Regions from separate parts of the Homo sapiens genome. Here regions 1 and 2 are each linked to region 3. Evidence: promoter capture Hi-C in human tissues and cell types (Jung and others, 2019). All regions are on one chromosome and are shown on one strand. The core of a region is centred on a gene start or on the middle of the fragment in contact, and the rest is flanking DNA. Distances in the headings are between cores, read along the strand shown.

Evidence for each region. Contacts are between HindIII fragments. The study calls those that stand out against the background at their distance.
Region 1: a contact is called between a fragment that was not itself captured here and the fragment with the promoter of CCL2 in region 3, in 2 of the 25 tissues and cell types used here (mesendoderm cells and spleen).
Region 2: a fragment that was not itself captured here is called in contact with the fragment with the promoter of CCL2 in region 3 in 6 of the 25 tissues and cell types used here (H1 embryonic stem cells, aorta, hippocampus and 3 more).

The regions. Positions count from the first base shown.
Region 1 is chr17:34,168,351-34,171,882 of GRCh38, reverse strand. It overlaps LINC01989 (long intergenic non-protein coding RNA 1989), which reads left to right. Exons shown (of 6, transcript NR_110748.1): 6 at 2,324-2,507. Among named protein-coding and RNA genes, the nearest start is that of LINC01989, 14 kb to the left of the region's middle. RefSeq lists a silencer at 355-464. The HindIII fragment of the contact is 5,451 bases long and covers 1-3,532 here.
Region 2 is chr17:34,330,622-34,334,010 of GRCh38, reverse strand. No RefSeq gene overlaps it. Among named protein-coding and RNA genes, the nearest start is that of CCL8, 13 kb to the right of the region's middle. The HindIII fragment of the contact is 4,891 bases long and covers 1-3,389 here.
Region 3 is chr17:34,253,262-34,256,633 of GRCh38, reverse strand. CCL2 (C-C motif chemokine ligand 2) reads right to left here and starts at 1,349. Exons shown (of 3, transcript NM_002982.4): 1 at 1,209-1,349; 2 at 295-412. The coding sequence starts at 1,284. RefSeq lists enhancers at 678-1,652, 1,653-2,627. The HindIII fragment of the contact is 9,151 bases long and covers 1-3,372 here.

The DNA of each region.
Region 1 (3,532 bases), core at 125-2,624, 85 kb after region 3:
TACTGTTGGAGACACTTTTTGAGAAATAGCAGCTGTCTCTCTTTATTATGTAGGGACCTGAGAAGGTGTAGACCAATCTGCAAATGGATCCTGTAGATCCACACGGCCGAAAGGGAACAAGATGGTAACTATGATCCTAGAAACATTTGATGAGGGGAATAAACAAGGCAGAGAGTGGTGGCACTCACCAGGGTTCATGGACTGGAGAGAAGGGGCCAGGTAGATTGCTCAGGGAGATCTAGTTGAAGCTCAGTGTATAAACGCGTCTGGAAGGGTCTCAGCACCTGGTTCCCCTGACACAGTGTATAGACCTGAGTAACAACAGTTGAACATGTGTACTTGTGAACTAAGGGAAATATAACCGCAGCTCCCCACTGTGCGGTTATCTAGGCCAGCACCAGCATGGCCTTGGCTGTGGTGGGAAGTGTCTCTAGACCTGTATGAGATCATTCTTCCACAGTGACCTCTGGTGGTAGTTGGGGGCAATTGCACTTGGCCTTGGAGGAGATGGCCCTGATTGATATTTTAAAGCAAGCTTGTCCAGCCCGCCGCTCAGGACAGTTTTGAATGTGGCCCGACACAAATTTGTAAACTTTCTCAAAACATTATAAACATGTTTTTTCTTTTTTTCTTTTTTTTTGCTCATCAACTATCGTTAGTGTTCGTGTATTTTACGTGTGGCCCAAGACAAAGTCTTATTCCGTTGTGGACCGGGGAAGCCAAAAGATTGGGCATCCCTGTAAAGCAAGAGTGACTGACAAAGCCCTGGAGCTCTTAGATAAGTGGTGAGAATAAATACAGGGAAGATAAAATAATATCAAGAAGCAAGGAGAGAGATTCTGGACTTCATGTTGATTAGAAGAAATGGCTTGAGTGATTCATTTAATAACAACAAAAATATGTGACTGTAATTATACCCCAATTACTGAAATATCTCATACCAGTTCTAAATATTTTATTTAAATATTTTACTTATTTATTCATTTATTGAGACAGGGTCTTGCTCTATCACCCAGGCTGGAGTGTAGCAGCGTGATCACAATTCACTGCAGCCTCAAACTCCTGGGCTCAAGCAATCCTCCTTCCTCAGCCTCCTGAGGAGCTGAGACCATAGGTACATGCCACCGCGCTTGGCTAAGTTTTAAAAGTTTTTGTAGAGACAGGATCTCACCATGTTGCCCAGGCTGGTCTCAAACTCCTGGGCTCAGGCGATCCTCCTGCCTCAGCCTCCTAAAGTGCTGGATTATAGAGGTAAGCCAATGCACCCAGCTGGCAAACTTATGTCGTGTGCAACACTTTGCATATAGGTGGATTTCAGGACATGTTTGTTGAATGGAGATGATGGAATTAAGGCTCATCAAAATCCACACTGATAGAAACTTCACATACTTATCCATTTTATTTCTTACAAGCTGATAAATGTTGTTATCCTCATTCTCCCGATGAGCTGTTGAAGGACCCATCTCCAGTAGTGACTGGTGGAAACAGTATTGGAACCCAGAGTTGATAACTGAACCCCTGCCAGCCCCACTCTGTCATCTCCTCGGTCAGTTGGGATGCTGCCGGGGTGTCTGCCTCAGCCTCGGACACAGAGTGGTGAAACAGATGATTTCGATGGATATAGTTAATGGAGGCCTGGGGTCGGTGAAAGTGATTTAATTGAAACGAAGTCAAGGAAAGTTTTACAAAGGGAGAAATTAGGTGTTTTCTCCTGAGACTTATGATCTGGTGAGAGGATTATGGTACTGAAAATCCTAGCAAAGGCATCAACCAGCAATACTTGTGAGTTCCATTAGTTACAATCATCTATTACTGGGAATGGGAAGGGAGAATGGAATCAAAGAAAGTAAGTTAAAGGTGTTTGTATTGAAAGCCAGAAAAAAAAAATAAAAAAAATTAAAAAAAAAAAGGTCAGCCAGGTGGGAAAATAAAAGAGAAAAAGAAATATTTTGATAAAACTGATACATTGAGATTATTCAACTGAAATAAATGTTAAGTGTATATGGGTGATTTTGCAAGAAGTCCTGCCAAAATCACATGAGGTTAATTATTTTGACCCCCATTTTCTGCTCCCACACTTGACTGAGGACATTCCAGACTGGAAATGACACCTCTGCCCTCAGTAACATGTCTGCAGCAACTAATGATCTCTCTGGAGTGTAGCTCAAGTTCCTGGAGTGCAACTGTAACTCTAGAAGCAAATTGGCTTTGCACTAATGGCTTCAACATAATTGCTAGTAGTTTCTGGTCCATTCTGGCAAGAAACACAAAGAATGCAATTGTTAAGTACTCTTTTTCTTTTTTTTTTCTTTTCTTCTTTAAGGGCCTATGGTTCATCCTGCAATATCAGAGAATACACAACTGTTGGAAGCTCATTTGTGCAGAAGCACTAGTTAGACCAAGTCCCAGGATGGTGGGGACTTGAACTGCCTCATGCACATTGTACCCAAGAGCCTGGCCCATGAAGGTGAATCAGTGGATACTTGAATAAAAAGAAGAATATGCGCTGAAGTTTTCTTTGAGGACATTTTTTTTTCTTTCCATAGTTTTGAGCATCTCTGATGTTTTGAGATTTCTGCCAGTCTTTGAGGATGTAATGCTCAATTAGACTTGTTCTCTGTCCTCAAAGAGCTTATATAATAGTTAGTGAGCTAATTCTCCTGTTTTGAGAGACAGGAGAAAATGTTATGTTATAATGAGTCATTCAGACTCTATCTACTAGGCCTGACTTTGTTACTTTTTAAAAAGCATTCTTCCACTCCTGCTTGGATATCTCTGTATACAAGACTCAGAGACACGTATGACGCCCCTTAGGAGGGGTTCTGACGTGCAAATTTCTGAGACCCAGAAGCACCTACCTTCCATTTTCCAATGCCCCAAATTCTATGAAAACCACGAGCACATGCATTCGTTCCCATGTTCTCGGGTGCCTCGCCTATCAGTCAAGGGTCACAAGATCTGCAGGGCAGTTGCTTTCAAAATAAAATGGATGTGAAAACAGCTGAAGCCCAGCGAGCACTTGATAACTGCTTCTTTTGAAGGCAAAATAAGATTATTCTATGAGGTAACAGGCTCCTTCTGGGCTTAAGTAGGCATAGGGTTTACAGTGTAGATTCTTGTGCTATGGTTTTCCCATAAAAGAGGGAAACCTTGAAATCACAGCACTTTTGTGGTAGGGAGGATTTCAAGCAGTGCTTAATAAGGTGTACATGACCATAGCAGAGTGTCCCCCCCCATCTCAGGGAAAAGGCCCCTGAAATTAATCATGAGAATCCTCTCCTGTCCCCAGGGACCTAGATGAACCCTGACTAATGAATATTTAAATCTCACTCTTTGTCTGCTCTCACACTCAAACCCTGATTCATGACTGTATGCTTTCCATTTGGCATGGAACAGAGATCACAAGTCCACAGGGTATAGCTCCATGCCACCTGGGGCTCCTTTAGACATTAGTATTATAGTAATTAATAACGGCATCTTATCATTGCAAGCTTTTATTAGATATTTATCAATGGTTTACATACTTTAGCTC
Region 2 (3,389 bases), core at 415-2,914, 77 kb before region 3:
AAGAAAAAAAAGACCATGGGGACTTAATTGGGATTATATTGACTTTTTTTAAACTTTTAAGTTCAGGGATACAAGTGCAGGTTTGTTACATAGGTAAACTTCTGTCATGGGAGTTTGTTGTACAGATTATTTTGTCACACAGGCATTAAGCCTAGTACCCATTAGTTATTTTTCCTGATCCTCTCCCTCCGCCCAGTGTGGGTAGGATCTTTCAGATCCTCCCTCTGAAAGGCCCCAGTGTGTGTTGTTTCCCTGCATGTGACCATGTCTTCTCATCATTTAGCTTCCACTTATAAGTGAGAACATGCAGTATTTGGTTTTCTGTCTCTGTGTTAGCTTGCTAAAGATAATGGCCTCCAGCTCCATCCTAAATTGACAGCTTAACATTATCGAGCCTTCTGCTCCATAAATGTGGTATATAGCTCTTCATTTATTTAGGTCCTTCTTCATTTTCCCTTGAGTATGTGTGGTAGTTTTCAGTATAGAGGTCTTACACATCTTTTGTTAAATTTATTCTTATTCTTATTCTATTTTTGATGATACAATAGATGGATTTTTAAAACTTTAATTTCTAATTTCTTATTAGTATATAGAAATTCAAGTGATTTTTGTATATTAGCTTAATTCCTGTGATCTTGAGAAATTCACTTCATTCTAGTAGTTTTTGTAGATCTCCTTGTATTTCCTATGTATATAATCATGTTACCTGTATATGACATTTTAAGTTCTTTCTTTCTAATCCTTATGTCTCTGTTTCTTTTTATCTTACCTTATTGCACTGCCTAGGACGTTGAGAACAATGTTGAAAAGGAATAGGAGATGCTTCTTGTCTTGCTCCTGATCATTTACAGTGCTGTTGTTTACTTCCTGAAGATCTGTGTTTCCACTGGAATCATTTCCCTTCAGATTTTCTCATAGTGAAATATTGTTATTCTAGTAACAAATTCATTCAGCTTTCATTTTTTTTTCTGAAAATGTCATTAGAGTAGAAAAACACTACAAGCAAAATTTACTTAGTTGACATGTCTGTAACCAACAACTTCAGCATATACATTTTTTCAAATACACGTGGAACATTTATCAAACTGACTCTCTATGTTGGACTACAAAGCTAATCTCAAAAATAGAAAAGGTTTGAACACATAGAATGTGTTCTTTAACCATTATGGAATTAAATTAACACCAACAATAAAATGATTTATTTTTATAATATCTCAAAGCTTAAAACTTTAGTCAATTTTGTCTAAATAACTCATAGATCAAAGAAGAAATCACAATGGAAATGAGAATATATTTTGAGGTAAATTATGATGAAAATGTGTCATATTAAAATGTGTGAGCTTTAAAAGCTGTGTTTAAGAGATTCATAGTGGCGACCGGTTGCAGTGACTCACGCTTGTAATCCCAGCACTTTGAGAGGCCAAGGCGGGTGGATCACCTGAGGTCAGGAGTTCGAGACCAGCCTGGCCAACGTGGTGAAACCCTGTTTCTACTAACAATACAAAAATAGCCGGGCGTGGTGGTGGCCGCCTGTAATCCCAGCTACTCGGGAGGCTGAGGCAGGAGAATCGCTTGAAGCCAGGAAGTGGAGGTTGCAGTGAGCTGAGATCGCACAATTGCACTCCAGCCTGGGCAACAGAGTGAAACTCCGTCTCAAAAAAAAAAAAGAGATTCATAGCGGCAACTCACTCATTGAGAGGGAGGAGAAAGCAGGGAGCTCCAGAGCCCTGCCTAGCCTGGCCTAAACTTTGCTGCCAAAGATGTGGTGGCAACAGGTACAACTTCTCCCTTGCCGAGCTGCAGCACTTCAATGGGGTTTAGGACCTGCACATTCTCATGGCCACACCAGCAAGGGCAAAGTGTTCAGCGTGACCAGAGGTTGCAAGTTCCAAGGGCCAGGGGGCCACACAGGATCTTTGCCGAAAGAGATACATCCAGGGGCCCTGCCACATTTTGCCTGGATAAGGGAGCACTGCAGGACAAGCATGATGACCTTTCTGACCTCCCTCCTGCCCAGGAGGAGACCCTGAGTGACTGGGCCTCTCAGTTCACATTCAAGTATTCTCACCTGGATAAACTGCTGAAGGATGGGAGGTACCCACTGTGGATTCAGATAAGGAAGAACCAAAAGATGAGAATGTACAGAAAAATGATTATTTTACAGAATCATTTGTAACATTCCAGTCTGTCTTAAAACATGGTGATTTCAATTTTTGGAAAAGCTTTGAACTTGCTGTATCTTTTAAAATTAACAACACTAGTGACACTGATAAAATTAACTTCTGTCTTAGAATGCATGATGTTTGTGTGTCACAAATCCAGAAAGTGAACGGCAGTGCTGTCATACAAATGTTAATACTGTTTTTTTCTTTTATCTGTAGTTAATACAAGCTGAATTTAAATGTGTTTGTTCTGAGAGACAGGTAAGAAGACCCTTATCTGCTGACCTTCCCTCCACTAGTGTCCTATGACCCTGCCAAATCCCCCTCTGCGAGAAACACCCAAGAATGAACAATAAAAAAAAAAAAAAAGAAGAAGACTTGAATATTTCCCAAAATAGGTAGAAATGTTAAATGTGCACCAAGAATAAAGAATCAACTGTTAGTCGTGATATTATCTAAAGATGGAAAATCCCTTTTTTTCTCAATTGACTTAACTGCCTGATTTGTTTTATCTACCTCCATAGCAAATCTGCAGTGTTCCAGAGTCTTTGGTATTGATTAAAGAGCTGTCAACTAACAAAATGAAATCTCAAAGCCGGGCTCAGTTGGAAACACACACACACACAAACACACACACACTCACTTACTGTGTTCCTGGACTACTTTGTTGTCCTTGCCATCACATGGTCACTTAGATACCCTCACAAACACAGTAATCTACATTTAGGATTAAAATAGTATCTGAAGATTCAAAAGAAAGCTTTGGAGAAAACCAGCCGGCTTGCCTAAAAGCCAAAACCTATGAAGAAGATTGTAGGACTATCTTTCCAATCCCCAATGTTCATGGTGGGGCAATAGTTATTTTACACAGTTTGAAATGAGAGAGAGGCATACAGAACAGAAATAGATGTTTGCTCTCCTAAGAGCCTTCATACACACCCCAGAGCAATGAGGAAACAGTACAATTACTAGCCAAGTGATTTTTAAAGTATATTCATAAGGTAACAATTACTCTTCTGTTATTACAAAACTCTAGCCATGACTATGGTTTGCTCTTTTGGTTCACACTAAGCTTAAGTGGTCCACACGATTGTGTGAATTTGTACAAGTATTATGTGAACAACTAGGGAGATTTCTAACTCTTGTAATTGCAGTTAGTTAAGTAATCATTGTATTTTCTTGTGAACTGTGTTTAATGGTTGAACCTCGAATCAGGAAACAAAATGA
Region 3 (3,372 bases), core at 100-2,599:
GGAGCTAGAGGAGGAACGCAGGTGGAAGGAGGGAACCCAGGGCAAACTGCTCCTATAGGTGTCCAGGTGGAGCCATCCTGACTTCAAGCTAAAGAAATTGGGGTGTTCTGAATAGGCACCCAGGTGGAGAGTGATGTTGGGGTTCACTTTTTCCCTTGGTGCCTCAGTTTTCCCATTGGGAACCTTTGTACATTAAGTTAAATAGTGCACTCTCTGACTCTAGGTTTATGAGGCTTGTCCCTTGCTCCACAAGGAAGAACTTCAGGCCAGGGAAGGTTGGTGTGCTGAACTCACATCACAGCTTCTTTGGGACACTTGCTGCTGGTGATTCTTCTATAGCTCGCGAGCCTCTGCACTGAGATCTTCCTATTGGTGAAGTTATAACAGCAGGTGACTGGGGCATTGATTGCATCTGGAAAATAAACCACAAAGAAAAAGCATTTTAGGATGAACTGGATTATTCTGATCTTAAGAGCAGAAAAGAGTCATGAGGAAAAAGCAAAAGGCAGGCAGGAGAAGACAAAGAGCTCATTAAATCCCAGTGCTTCTGCCTATACCTCAGAGCTAGAATGTGATCTTTGACCCAATGACTCAGTTTCCTATGCTGTAAAATGGGTATATAACATTGATAATGGACAGAGAGAAGGAGGAGCTGTTAAAGCTAGATAATGCCTACAAGTGTCATTAAGACGGACCAATAATCCAGATGATCAGCACCAGGGAAGATCAGCTGGGGAGCCCCACTATGAGCCTCCTTTTAGACTCTGAATAGGCTATGCCTGGTCATGAGTTTCCCTGATACTCATTACCTCTGCAGAGTCACCGTCTCTGGAAGCTAAGGTGAATGAAGCACAGACCAGATTCTGGGTCTCCAGCGTGTCTGGAAACAGCCTACACACCCACCCTCTCTTTGATTACCCTGATCCCCAAACTCTGCTGGAAGCAGCTGGGGGAGTAACTGCGCTGAGTGTGTTCCCAGAGCTGGAATCCTGGAAGGAGCTGGATTTGGGGTTCACAGCTGGAATTCTAGTTCAGGCTCTGCCGAGCAGCAGCTGTGTGGTTGGGCTCACCCCTTGTCCTTTTCTGAGTCACCTTATCTTGGAAAAGTAGCGTTAAAGCAAGACTGTGGGTACCACGTCTGCTTGGATGGTCCATGATAACTCAGAGAGAAGACAATGTGGTTCAAGGAGAAGAAGAGGGGGCCTTACCTGGCTGAGCGAGCCCTTGGGGAATGAAGGTGGCTGCTATGAGCAGCAGGCACAGAAGGGCGGCAGAGACTTTCATGCTGGAGGCGAGAGTGCGAGCTTCAGTTTGAGAATTGGATGTTTCTGGGTTAGTCTCAGCCTCTCGGTTCCTCTGGCTGCTGTCTCTGCCTCTTATTGAAAGCGGGCAGAGGGAGAGAGGGCGGAGTCAAGCAGGAGGAGGGATCTTCCATGAGTGATAAGTGGGCTGTTAAATCTGCTGAGCAAATGCAGCATCCTGTGGATTTCCAGGAAGTAGGAAAGGGAAGCAGGGGGTCAGGACGAGACACTTTTTCCATTCACTGCTGAGACCAAATGAGCAAATGGGGAGGATGGGGTGCCATTAAGCCCAGACTGACCACAGATGTGAACTAAGAGGGTTATTTTTAAGGATTCTGCTTTCTCTGAAGCGAAAACTGCAGAAAAGGAAGGAAGCGAGGAAACTAGATGAAAGCATGTCAGGCTCGCTGCCAGCTTACCTTCAGGCCACATTCCAAGGGGCCTCCCAGCCAGGAAGGAGCTCTCAAGCTTTGGCCGGCTCCCTGACAATGCATTAAATCCATTTGCTCATTCAAATGCAGAATAGTAGCATCATAGAAGCCTAGCAGAACTGTAGGATTGTGTAAACATTGAACTGAATTCTAAGAGTTCTAGGGTTTCAGACTTGGACAAAGGCATAGACAGCATGTAGTGCTGCAGAAGAAATGCCAGTGTCATACTCACAGAGTGCTTACTCTGCCAGGAATATTCTCAGACCTTTACAAATATTAACTCTGTAAATTCCCCAACTTTATCTAGTAGGGATTGCTAATTTTCATGTTATAGATCAGGCAACTGAGGCACAGAAGGGTTAAATAGCCTGCTCAAGGTCCCCTCGAGCACAGAACCCAGGCAGCCCTGTCCCCAGTGGGCTGCCACCTCTCTGACATACTGCTGGAAGGAAACGTGTACAAGTCCTCCAACTAGTTGCCTGCTTGGGTCCTCTCTCTGTCCTCAGCATCTTCCAAATGGGCAGACAGCTAAAGGAGAATCTAGAAACATTCCTCATGGCTAAGTCATTATGAGTTAGGAGGCTGTTGCTAGCATAGCAGGCAGCAGTGGACAAGAAGTTCATCCCTGGTTATGGCAGCTATTCTCCTGGCTTCCTTCTTAATTTCCAAGGGACATGAGTAAGCAGTGGAGGAGTATTTCGGGAATTGGAAAGCCTGACTTCATTCCTCAGTTGTGCCTTAGATTTCCTCAGAAACTACAGAAGCACACTGATAAAAACCCAAAGACCTTAGAATTCATTTCAGTGAACTGTTGTCTCTTACAAATATGATAGGAGTACTTGAGGCATGTTAATGGCTGGGCTGAGTTTAAAATTCTGATCTCTCGATTCTCCTAGCCCACTGCCTCCTCCTTCTGAGCCTTGCGGTGCCCTTGCCCAATGGGCATACAAAGACTAGTGACTTCTTTCATAAAGGGTCACTGAGGCAATGTCTATAAATGCATGGGGTTTCTTGAAAGAAAACACTTTTCACTACACTTGTAAAAAGAAACGGGTTGTATTCAACAAATGACTGTTTTATTTCTAGTAAGTGGTCAGTAATGGCATTGTTGAGTGCATTCAGGGAGTCAGGTATGGTGCTGACATACTTTCCAGCGCTGCCTGCCCAGTCCTCCAACCAACCCAGCTTTCGTTAGGTTAAAACTGAAGTTATTTGTCCAGTAACTCAGACAGAATAGTAGATGTGCTGAGACTCCCACCCAGGATGTTTCCATTCCAGAATCTCTTCTTCCTGGGACTAGACTTGATGTCTCATGATGGATATTGGTTTCCTGGAGAATCCCAGAGCAGAGACTCTATGGAGTGGCCATTTCAGACTCTGGTGGAATTACAAAAAGCAGGATGAAGAGAGAACAAATCAACTCGAGCCCTGCTTTGCTTGTGCCTCTTGAGGAGCCTTATTCTTGTTCTGCCTGAATCTCACTAGTTACTCCTTTTCTCCCCAACCAGTGTTGAAACTTCTCTGTGTTTGTCTCAGTCCTCTGCTCATGCCTCAATCCATTCTTATCCAATGAATAAAATGTTTCCAGGACTAGAGACTGTGCAACTTTGTGTAGGAATTTCTTCCTAGGCCATCTCACC